4 separate regions of the Homo sapiens genome follow, and all the other regions are linked to region 2. The links are contacts of gene promoters, found by promoter capture Hi-C in blood cells and fetal thymus (Javierre and others, 2016). All regions are on one chromosome and are shown on one strand. Each heading gives the region's core, a stretch centred on a gene start or on the middle of the fragment in contact. The rest is flanking DNA. Distances are from core to core; before and after follow the strand shown. Region 1 overlaps SPEF2 (sperm flagellar 2). Region 2 holds the start of AGXT2 (alanine--glyoxylate aminotransferase 2). Region 3 overlaps UGT3A1 (UDP glycosyltransferase family 3 member A1). Region 4 overlaps UGT3A1 (UDP glycosyltransferase family 3 member A1).

The links. The method cuts DNA at HindIII sites, captures the fragments that hold promoters and counts their contacts. A CHiCAGO score of 5 or more calls a contact.
Region 1: a fragment that was not itself captured here is called in contact with the fragment with the promoter of AGXT2 in region 2 in 1 of 17 cell types (M1 macrophages); the score reaches 5.4 in M1 macrophages.
Region 3: a fragment that was not itself captured here is called in contact with the fragment with the promoter of AGXT2 in region 2 in 1 of 17 cell types (naive CD8 T cells); the score reaches 5.7 in naive CD8 T cells.
Region 4: a fragment that was not itself captured here is called in contact with the fragment with the promoter of AGXT2 in region 2 in 3 of 17 cell types (activated CD4 T cells, naive CD8 T cells and total CD8 T cells); the score reaches 7.8 in activated CD4 T cells.

The regions. Positions count from the first base shown.
Region 1 is chr5:35,625,020-35,627,798 of GRCh38, forward strand. The region is part of intron 1 of SPEF2 (sperm flagellar 2); the gene reads left to right. Among named protein-coding and RNA genes, the nearest start is that of SPEF2, 8.5 kb to the left of the region's middle. The HindIII fragment of the contact is 207 bases long and covers 1,148-1,354 here.
Region 2 is chr5:35,046,618-35,049,406 of GRCh38, forward strand. AGXT2 (alanine--glyoxylate aminotransferase 2) reads right to left here and starts at 1,332. Exons shown (of 14, transcript NM_031900.4): 1 at 1,188-1,332. The coding sequence starts at 1,275. It also overlaps a transcript of PRLR not described here. The HindIII fragment of the contact is 8,089 bases long and covers 1-2,789 here.
Region 3 is chr5:35,985,525-35,988,609 of GRCh38, forward strand. UGT3A1 (UDP glycosyltransferase family 3 member A1) reads right to left here. Exons shown (of 7, transcript NM_152404.4): 2 at 2,926-3,027. Among named protein-coding and RNA genes, the nearest start is that of UGT3A1, 4.3 kb to the right of the region's middle. The HindIII fragment of the contact is 1,850 bases long and covers 353-2,202 here.
Region 4 is chr5:35,968,827-35,971,526 of GRCh38, forward strand. All of the region lies in intron 2 of UGT3A1 (UDP glycosyltransferase family 3 member A1), which reads right to left. Among named protein-coding and RNA genes, the nearest start is that of UGT3A1, 21 kb to the right of the region's middle. The HindIII fragment of the contact is 3,790 bases long and covers 1-2,700 here.

The DNA.
Region 1 (2,779 bases), core at 1-2,500, 580 kb after region 2:
TATATGTATTCTTTTTTCTTTTTCTTTTAATTTTTTTCTCCAAGTTTCCCCTTTATTGCTTTTATCATTTGCTGTATTCGTCACTCACTGTTCTAGTTTCTGCTGATGTGGTACATGGTAAATCTGAAGTGTCTTATGCATAAAAAGCTTCAGACAGATATTTTGATACTTACAGATTTTTTATAAACTACTCTGACAATGAAGTACATTAAGTGTTTACTATTGTTCTTTAACCTTTATACTATAAACACCTCTATTTTATCCATATCATAATTGCCTTATTAATATGCCATGCCATTTCAAAGGAAATGGGTAATGATTTTATTTTTCTGGTGACCTTTTTGTAGAAAATGGTTTGTTACAGACCGTTTGTCAGCCACACTGAAGATGAAGGAAACGGATTTAGTATTCCCCAGTTATTCCTGGGCTAGACTTTCAGCATTCAGTCAACGTGAACAACAGGCACAGTGCAAACCCCAGAGGGAGGCAGGAAGGGAAAGAGATTACCTGAAGGTAACATAGCAACAGCTCTTGAACAGAAAGCAATAAGCCAAAAATTGGGACAAGACCCTGATGGCGTAGGAATAGAAAGACACAGATACATCCATAGATGAATAATGGTTCTATGTCCAGTGGCTCTTTAGAAAACTAAGGGAAGAATAGGGATAGGCTAGGGAGGAGAGAAGGGAAGAGGCAGACAGAAGAAAGCAACAGACAGAAGAGGTGAAAGACACAGCTAGAGCACCCTGGGTGGCACATTGAGGGTCATGGTGGCAACGAGAGCTTTGGGGTCTGTAAGGGAAGGAGAAAGCTGCAGTGACACAGGAGGAGGTGGCACACTTTTGCCCATTGGAGCAGAAGGAACCCTTTGGATTTCAGTTGCTTTAAAGACTACTGAGGTATGAAGCCGGAAGACACTTGCTGAATGACAGATGACATTTAGTATAAGATCAAGCCAATCTTCATTTTAGTAGCATCGAAAGGCATTATGATATTCAAATGGTGTTGCGTTAAAGTCGGAAAAAATCAGTGCCTAGGTTATGAAGCTCAAGCTTAACTTGTGCTGTAAGGTGTTCCAGGCGGTACAATAGATCTAGCTGAGTTATAGAGCTCAGGTATGCCATGAATTTCAAATTCTCCTGCTGGAAGCTTTAGGACATACTCTTCTCTAAGTATATTTTCTCAAGAGTTGCTTCAGTGTTTCACATTAAGACATAGCTTCGGAAGGACAGATATGACTGATAGGAAGGGCATCAAACCATCAACTCTGAAAGAATGTATCATGGGTTTAGAGTGAGATCATTCTGCCCTGAATAGTTTTAAAATGATGATAAAACTGGTCTGTTTGTGGAAAAGCTTACTAAAATCCACTAATAGGTGCCAGACTGTGGACTTTAAGAATAGATGCAATGTGTCTGTTCTCACATGAACTATAGCTGAACACAAGGTTATGTGATTGGAAGCTTTCATTTTCCTAGGGCTTATAAAAGTTTCATTTCTTTACTTGTTGCTAAAGTGATCCATAGACAAAAAAAGCATTGCTTCCCCTTAATGTTTTTTACCTTTTATTTTTTCTATTGCATATAAAAATTATGTAACCATAATTAATAGATTCTAATTCTAGACAGTTCAAGAGCTCACCCTGAGTACATAGAATCAGTGGGAACCATTGACATCTTTTTAACTACCTTTATTATTGTATTGACTCAACTTAAGGATTGAGGTATTACTCTGAGTATAAAGGGTTTTGAGAACAGATATTAAGAAAGTCTTAGAGAAAACTGTGTTCTGGTATCAGACATGCAAAAAGTATTATGATAGGGTGTAATCTTTGGAGTGAGGACTGCACAGTGGCTGTTATGGAGCAACTTAGCTCAACTTCCTACAACCACACAACCAAGCATCGCTTCTACAAATCATGAAGAAATGTTATTTCTTCACTGTCAATTAGCCACCTCATTATTAGTCAGACAGGTAAAATAGAACAATCTGGCAAAACTGAATTTGTGATACTGCAATGACATATAATATTTTAACCGATGTTAAAATATTATATTTAATATAATATGTTATATTATATGTTAACCTGATGGAAGCAGGTTGAATATCTGTGGAGGATTTTGAAGTAATTTGAGAGATGATAGCTTTGGCCTATGATAATATAATTTATTTTGTATATAATCCTTAAATATCATGTAAGTCTATATATTTTACTTTATAAGAAAAATACAAGTAACTCAAAACTAAGAACATTTTTTAAAAAAGCAAATCCTATTGAACACTTAAAAATTTTTTTTCTCGGCTGGGCACGGTGGCTCATGCCTGTAATCCCAGCACTTTGGGAGGCCGAGTCAGGTGGATCATGAAGTCAAAAGATCGAGACCAACCTGGGCAACATGGTGAAACCCCCCTCTCTACTAAAAATACAAAAATTTGCTGGGTGTGGTGGCACACACCTGTAATCCCAGCTACTCGGGAGGCTGAGGCAGGAGAATCGCTTGAACCCAGGAGTCAGAGGTTGTAGATCAGGCCACTGCACTCAGAGGTTGTAGATTAGGCCACAGCCTAGGCGACACAGTGAGACTCCATCAAAAAATAAAATAAAATTCTGCACTTATCATTATGTGCCTACTATGTGGCAGGCATGGCACCCAGCAATTCTCAAACACTGCTGCAAAAGAGAGCTATTAATATTAAATAGCTCTCTGATATAAGATATAGATATGGTTATCTTTGTTCTAGACATGAGGCTGAAACTCAGGAAGATGAAGCAGCTTGC
Region 2 (2,789 bases), core at 82-2,581:
AAAGGAGATAATGCATTTAAAGCATCATGCATGTGTCAAGTTTCAAAAAACTGCAATTTTCAGGGGTAAGAAAGCGAAGAGGAGAGGAAGGAAGGAGGGTGAAAGGGAAATATGAGGAGAAAATGAAGGCAAAGTTGGTCACAATGGGGAATGTAAAATGGTCCCCTGTACCTGTTTACGGCCCGTGAAGCACAGGCACATAAATGTACAGACAGTTGCTTAATCTCATGTTTGCATGAGGGAATTTGCTGAGGAGGAGGTGAGGCTCTCGTGAAACAAGATCCATGTGAAAATCACAAGCATATAGGATATTACTCATAAAGCCACCAATGTCTGGTTACCCCACATCTCCTCATATTTTCTGTTCTTGCTGCAGAGAGGAGAGTCTGAGTAGATGGGGAGGGCCTGGGGTCAAGCCCTGGCTTGGATGACTCTGGGTGAATCACAGCACTTGTTGGCAATTGAGAGCGTGGTCTCACTTCCTAGAGGCATGATGAAAATTCATGCAGATGCTTTACATCTTTTAAAATAGTCATCCTAGCCTGGTGCAATGGCTTAGGCCTGCAATCCGAGCACTTTGAAAGACTGAAGTGAGAGGATTGCTTGAGCCCGGGAGTTCGAGACCAACTTGAGCAACATAGTAAAACCCCATGTCTACAAAAGTTAAAAAAGAAAAATAGCTAGGCATGGTGGCATGTGCCTATAGTTCCAGCTACTCAGGAGGCTGAGGTGGGAGAATTATTTGAGCCTTGGAGGTCAAGGCTGCAGTGAACCATGATCACACCACTGTACTCCAACCTAGGTGACAGAGGGAGACCCTGTCTCAAAAAAGAAAAAATAGAAATCATCCTTGGGCATCTGTAAATTGAAGTCACACTCTATTTTGATTGCTTTCCTTTGGTTTTTAAAAATATTGAAGCTGAGATAGCATGTCATGTTGAAATTGTGTATAGTCGGGTTTCATTATCCACGAATTTCATTTCAAAACAAAAAGGAGCATTACAAAATATTGGCTATGAAAATGGGGCATTGACTCAGGGTGAGAACCTGTGTGTCAAAAACATGCCTCATCTCTAAGACCTCACCCAGGTCTAACATTCCAGAATCCCAGGCAGCAGCCTTCGGAGCTCAAGTCTTACCCTCTCGCTGATCCTCTACTGACCCACGTCCCCCTGGTTTCCACTTACGGCTCAGGAAAGGATGCATCTCAAGGATCCTGGGAGCGGAAGTGACCAGGCACAAGGGTCTCAGCAAATGTCTCCAGATTAGAGTCATTTCTCCCACTCAGAAAGCCAACCCCCATGGAAGCAGATTGGAGGCCGGGCTCTAACTGCTCACTATCCTGCTGGACTTTGAGATTAAGATGGGGAGGAGGCGCTAAAAGGGGAATCCTGGAGTGGTGACTGCCCATGGCTTCAGGCAAGCCCCAGAGCTCTCTATTTCTAGTAACAGTGCCTTCAAGGGGGAGAAAAAGAGAGTGAGGAAAAGAGATAGAATGAAAATAGGAAGGAGAGAGAGAAGAGGAGAGAAAAGAAAGGAAAAGAAGAGAACAGAAGGGAAGAGGAAAGAAAGCAGGCAGATAAAGCAAAGGTCATCTGACAAGTTCTGTTAGTTTAATATTCCATCGGAGTTTCATCCGGGTACACTTTTCTCTGCAGGAGGGTGGTGCTGGGTGTGGGAGAAGGATCAGGACATGGTTGAAGGGGTCGGAGATTGTGAAACGAGGTATGTGACTAAGAGAGGAAAAAGGAAGATATGCATGAAGTGAATGAACAAATAAATTGGTTTTGGGGGTCTTAGAGAAAGAGAGGAGAAAACAATGGGGAAGGAGCCATTCCAAAGAAAAGCTGAGAGTACCAAATAGCTAGGTAAGGTTCTGGACAGCTGTGGATCATCTTATGTGTCTGAGGAAGGCAAAAGGTTGAGAGCTAAGGAGTTAGTGTGCCTTATTTTCATTATTTCTTAAATTCCTATTTATCCCACTCCAGCCTCCCCTTACCTTCAATCCCCATAAGCAAGTATTTAGCATGCTTATATATATCCTTTTGTTGGAACGCATTCTTGTAAAATGTGTATTGTTTAGGGTGAATGCAGTTTTAATTTATGTAAATATGTGTAATATGTCTTTTTTCTTTTCAGTTAGAACCATGTTTTTAAGATCCAACCAGGTTGCGAAGAGTACATCTCTTCTAGGTTTCCCACTGCTTCAGAATGGGGGACCACGTGCTTTACATGGCAGTGCCTAAGGGGGACAGTGACAAAGCTGATTGCAACTAGGGGGTCGAGGGACTGGGGATGGGTAGATATCATTAATCTTGGGTCACCCTGTAAGGGAGACAACTGACTTGGCCACATCCTTCACAAACACCTGCATAACAACCTTTTACTCCAAATGCCCATAGGAGGTGAAGGCACTAGGTAAGCAGAGGGAGTATGTTACATTCAATATAATTGTCCCTTTTTGTGTGGGTTTCCAGCTCCCAGTCAATTCTGCTTTGGGGGCAGTAGGGAGTGATCATATGAGCTGGCTGGTCACGTGCTGCAGGAGTAATCCAAGTCAGTGAGGCCAGTGGACACACAGCATCTCCCTGGGGTGCACAGTCTGTCCTGTGGTTGGACAGAGGGGAGAAAATGTTGAGTTCCTGAATTCTGGTATATGCTCTTCAGCTCTACTGGACTGTGGTCAATGTTGCCTTTGTGAACACCGCAAGTCTTCCTTGACTTGAGATTTTTCTTGGTCTGTAAGATTTGAGATTTTTGTAATGAGAGGCACCCAACATCAAGGGGTC
Region 3 (3,085 bases), core at 28-2,527, 940 kb after region 2:
ACAGAAGAGCCCAGATAAAAACCTACACATGTATAGCAACCTTATCTTCAACAAAGAGGCCAAGAACATATAATGAGGAAAGGACAGTCTTTACAATAAATGGTGCTGGAGAATCTGTAAAACTGGATATACGCAAAGAACAAAACCAAGCCACTGTCTCTCACCATACAAAAAAATAAGGTCAGAGTGGATTTAAAACTTAATTCTAAGACTTAAAACTATGAAACTACTAGAAGAAGACATTGAGGAACTATTCCAAGACATTGGTCTCAGCAAAGACTTTTTTAGTTAGACATCAAAAGTACAGGCAATCAAAGCAAAAATAGACAAATGGGATTACATCAAGCCAAAAAGCTTCTGCACAGCAAAGGAAACAGTCAACAAAATGAAAAGACAACCCAAAGAATGGAGAAAATAATTGCAAACTATTCTTTTCACAATGGATTAATAACCAGAATATATAAACAGCTCAAACAACTTAATAGCAAATAAATAGTTAAAAATGGGAAAAAGATCTGAATAGACATTTCTCAAAATAACCAACAGATACATAAGAAAATGTTCACCATTATTTATCCTCAGAAAAATGCAAATCAAAATCACAATGTGATATCATCTCATCACAGTTAAAATGGCTTTTATCTGAAAAACGGAATAATGAATGCTGACACGAAAGTCAAGAAAGGGGAACCCTCATACACTGTAAATTAGTACAGCTGCTATGGAAAACTCTATCAAGATTCCTCAAAAAACTAAAGACAGAACTACCATATGATGCAGCAATTCCACTACTAGATATATAATCCAAAAGAAAAAAAGTCAATATATCGAAGAGATAGCTTCATTCCCATGTTTATTGCAGCACTGTTTACAATAACCAAAGTAAAGCAATCAACCTTAGTGCACATCAGTGGACAATGCATAAAGAAAATGTGATTTAAATCCACAATGAAATATTATTCAGCTATAGAAAATAATGAAATTGTGTCATTTACAGCAATATGTATTGAATTAGAGGCCATTATATTAAGTGAAATAAGCCAAGCATAGAAAGAAAAATATCCAATGTTCTCACCCATATGCAGTAGCTTACAAAAGAGGATCTTATGAAAGTAGAGAGTAGATTGGTGATTACTAGAGACCGGAAATGGTAGTGGACAGGGGATATGGATAGAGGTTGATTAATGAGTACATATCTATAGCTTTACAGAAGAAATAAGATCTAGTGTTTGATAGATCAGTAGGGTGACTATAGTTTACAATAATCTATTGTATGTTTCAAAGTAGCTAGAAGAGAATAGTTTGAATGTTTCTAGAATAAAGAAAAAACAAATATTTAAGGTCATGCATATCCCAATTACACTGATTTGATCCTTACAAATTATATAAATGTATTATCACATGCACCCTGAAAATATGTACATCTATTATGCAGCAATAAAAATGTATAAATTTTTTAAAAAGGAAAAAGAGTCAGAACCTCAAATAATTATGTTCTCCTTTAGGCTGCTATCCTATACGTGAGATTTCAGTTATGAGTTGGAAAAATACTGCGCGTGAGCACAAAAAACCTACACTTCTTCAGTATCCCTGAAGTCATTTATTTATTAAAGTTTTAAATAAGGAAGTGATGGAAACATGTAGTTAACAAATGTACAAGTATTTCAATACACTGATTTGGCTATCAGACTATCAAAAACAACCCAATCAAGTGCTTTTCCTACTTTCAGAGCTCTACCCAAATACTACTGCAAACTAGAAGGAAGAATATTTCATCTCAACCGCAGAAATGTCCAAAGATTGAGGAATACTGAAAGAAACTCTAGAACACTTGAACCCCAACACTTGAACCCAAAGATAAAGCTGAACAGATTCATGAATCCACAGAATCATTTGTAGATTTTGGTGTGCATGGTCTGTTAAAGTAGTGGGTCTATAGCTTTCAGCAGTTTGTCAAAAGCTATTGGAACCACCAAAATAAGATGACCATATATTACTGCTGAGAAATCAGACACTATAAGGCAGATACAAAGGAAAATGTATAAAAAGGATATTCAGTGAACATTCCAAAACTCAATCTAGAAGGTGATCAAAAGTGCATTAAAACTATCTAAACATTAACAAGGCCTGAAGTTTACCTTCAGAATTTTATAATGACTCAGACTTTTTCTCCCAAGATGGTTAATTTTTGATGTTGTTCAAAGCTTCAGAAACCCTCAGATTGAGAAACCCAGAGCCTGAAGACCCAGATTCGCCCAACTCTGTTATTAATTTTTCATTTGACATTAAACAAATTTTTTCAGTTCCCTGGACCTCCGTCTCCTTGTCTGTCAACAGGAATTTATGAGTTTCATTTTAGTTACAATTCTTTGGAGGAAATGAATCAATTAAAAACTTCTGACATCATTATGTACAACTTATGCATAGCTACAAATTTTTCAAGCATATGAGGTCGTGTTAATCATATATTCTCATCTTAGTTAATAATTAAGAGGCTCCCTGGGAAATCTTTCATAAATTTCAAGTCTCTCAAGAATAGAAAGTAACCTGTGGGATAAGAAGAACTTCTATACTTACATAATAAAAGCCTGAAATATGGCTAAACATTTCTGTTCAAAAAAACTTTAAGCCATACCATTGTGTAGTATTCCTCAAAATAATTAATAATAATGTGTGGAGAGTTGTCTAGAATAGAATGACACCCAGGTAAGTGGTAAAATACAGAAGTATGTTATGTGAAGTCTTAGTCTACAGACCCAATAAGAATTCCAATACTTAACATGAACACACATCCACACACACATTTATTCATCCCGAAATAAGACTAGATTCAAAGAAGTTTTTACTATGCAGCTGTATAAAAAATATATTATCACTTTTTGCTTAGAGTAAAAGAATATAAAAATTAGTTTTTAAAAAAGATACCTGGGATCAAAAACTTTCCACTCTGATGAAGCATAGTCACATTATGACCATGCTCTTGAAGAATCTGAGACACCCGGTCCAACAGTAGGTAATGGCTTCCACCTAGAAACAATGCACAATGTCTTTTGTAAAGATGAAAATAGAGTTTCTGATGACAATA
Region 4 (2,700 bases), core at 193-2,692, 920 kb after region 2:
AGCAAGCCAGGCCAAAGTGGGAGAATCCTCACCTCAATTCAAGTTTCAATCAGAAGTTTCAATAATTTGCATTGTGAGACAGGAATGACAAACAGGGATCCTCTTTTCAGTAGCCCTGGATCATGTGTCTCAAACCAAAGCTATCTGTATGTCTCAGATGGAATTGTGTTTCTCAACTACAGCATGAGCTGTGGTTGACAGTAACTCAGTGGAATAACTCTTACCCTATGAGCACTGGTTATGTGTCCCAATCATATATCACCTCCCACACACACACCATTGTAAAGAGCACTCAGGGTTAAGACTGACATCAGTGCAATATATGATCCCTCCAAATGGTGTGAAGAATGGTAATCATTGTGTGGCATGCTCACATCCACAATCCTAAAAATAGATGGTCCACTGGGACCTCAGAAAATGCCTTTGCTACTATTGCTGATTATATCTCTGTAGCTAAAAATGCTCCAGATGAACAGAATTATTAGGAAAAGCACCCATGACAACACTATACAGCCAAAGAGATCCTTCAAACCCAATTTAAGCCTTGGGTCTCTCAAAATTACCAGAAAGAAGGTCTCTAACCTTGCTGATACTCATTGGAACTCTCTCAGAAAGAAACTTACAAAGATGAGCATGTTAGAAAGGACACCCATCCACCCACCACCACCAAAGTACACCTGATAACAACCAAAAAGAGAAAGAGAGAATTAGGTTAGTCAAAAGGGGTGGGGAGGGGGACGGGTGGGATGCAAGAACAAAAACTAAAACAAAGGTCTACAACTTAACCCTTTGGAAATTTAACATTTATTTTTTAACAGAAAAATTAAAAGGACACTGATTGGCTATTTTCTCTCTACATTGTAAGTTCTAGATTAACATCAGATCAAATACACCCCTGCGAACCGTAATAACCTTAATCAACAATTGGGCAAAAGTTACAGGTATATCAGAATATTTCACTAAATTTAAGTAATATTACCTCTGTACTCTTAAGGAGTTATCCAATATAATATAGACGGCAAATATATATGCCCCATCTTAAGCATTGGTACTAAATACCTGTATTAGTCTGTTTTCATGCTGCTGATAAAGACCTACTTGAGACTGGATAATTTATAGAGGAAAAAGGATTTAATAGACTTACAGTTCCACATGGCTGAGGAGACCTCACAATCATGGCAGAAGGCAAGGAGGAGCAAGTCATGTCTTACATAGGTGGCAGCAGGCAAAGAGAGAGAGAGCTTGTGCAGGGAAACTCTCTCTTATAAAACCATCATTTCTTGGCCGGGCACTGTGGCTCACTCCTGTAATCCCAGAACTTTGGGAGGCTGAGGCAGGCAGATCATGAGGTCAGGAGATCAAGACTATCCTGGCTAATACGGTGAAACCCCATCTCTACTAAAAATACAAAAATAATTAGCCAGGCGTGGTGGCACACACCTGTAGTCCCAGCTACTCAGGAGGCTGAGGCAGGAGAATCACTTGAACCTGGGAGGCAGAGGTTGCAGTGAGCTGAGATAGCGCCACTGCACTCCTGCCTAGTGACAGAGTGAGACTCCATCTCAAAAAAAAAAAAAAGCCATCAGATCTCGTAAGACTTATTCCCTATCACAAGAACGGCACAGGAAAGACCTGTCCCCATGATTCAATTACCTCCCACCAGGTCCATCCCACAACACGTGGGAATTCGAGATAAGATTTGGGTGGGGACACAGCCAAACCATATCAATACTCCATAGTCTTAAGACTCATTTCCTAAAATATTCCATTGCATTCTGGGCATGGCTACTCTTAACTAACAATTAAAAAACTAACATAAAATTGTTTCTTTGGCACTTAGAATTGGCTTAACAAAAAGGGATGCTGTGGATCTGCTTCAGTATATTAAAATTATTAACAATGCCCAAAATAGATTAAAGCAGGGCCTTTACGGATTAAATTCCATTATGAAAGATCTATTTAGAAAAGGGTTAATTGTCTCCATTCTTTCTCCCTTTAAAATCCCAATTTGGACTATTTTTAAACCTAGCAAGAATTAATGATGCCTCACAACATTTTACTACAGCCTTAATGCCAGGATCCATCACATTTAGAACCTCATACCCATGGTTATTAAAAATTGCTTACTACATTTGAATACTAACAAATACTTTGCAATCATAGATTTGACAAATATGTTCCATTCAAGGCCTATTTCAATAGGATCTCAGTCAGTTTCCCTTTATCTTTAAAAGGCCATAAATCACCTGTAACTGGATGACTGTGGGGAACCTCAATATCCTGGCCCACAATCACTGCCAGCAAGACCATCATCATATCCAACTTTCCCTAGGAGCAGTTATGACATTATAATGAGGATGTCCTCCTTGGAGGAGACTCATCAAGCACAATCATTCAAGACATACACAGGGTGCGCTTATTCAAGACATATTATATATACAAAGGAACGCACAAAAAGGGATGTGCCATTGCCACACACAAAGTAGAAGGCATGGTGCTTCAGTTACATTCCTGAGAAGAATTGCTTGGTAAGTTTAACAATGCTCCATCATTACCAACATTCCATTCCCAGCATAATAGCATGAGTAACTCTCCAGACACTGTTCACACCAAAACTGGTGAAAATGACACACGCATACACACACACACACACACACACACACACATACACAAATGTTGGAAATGGTTCTAGGGCATACA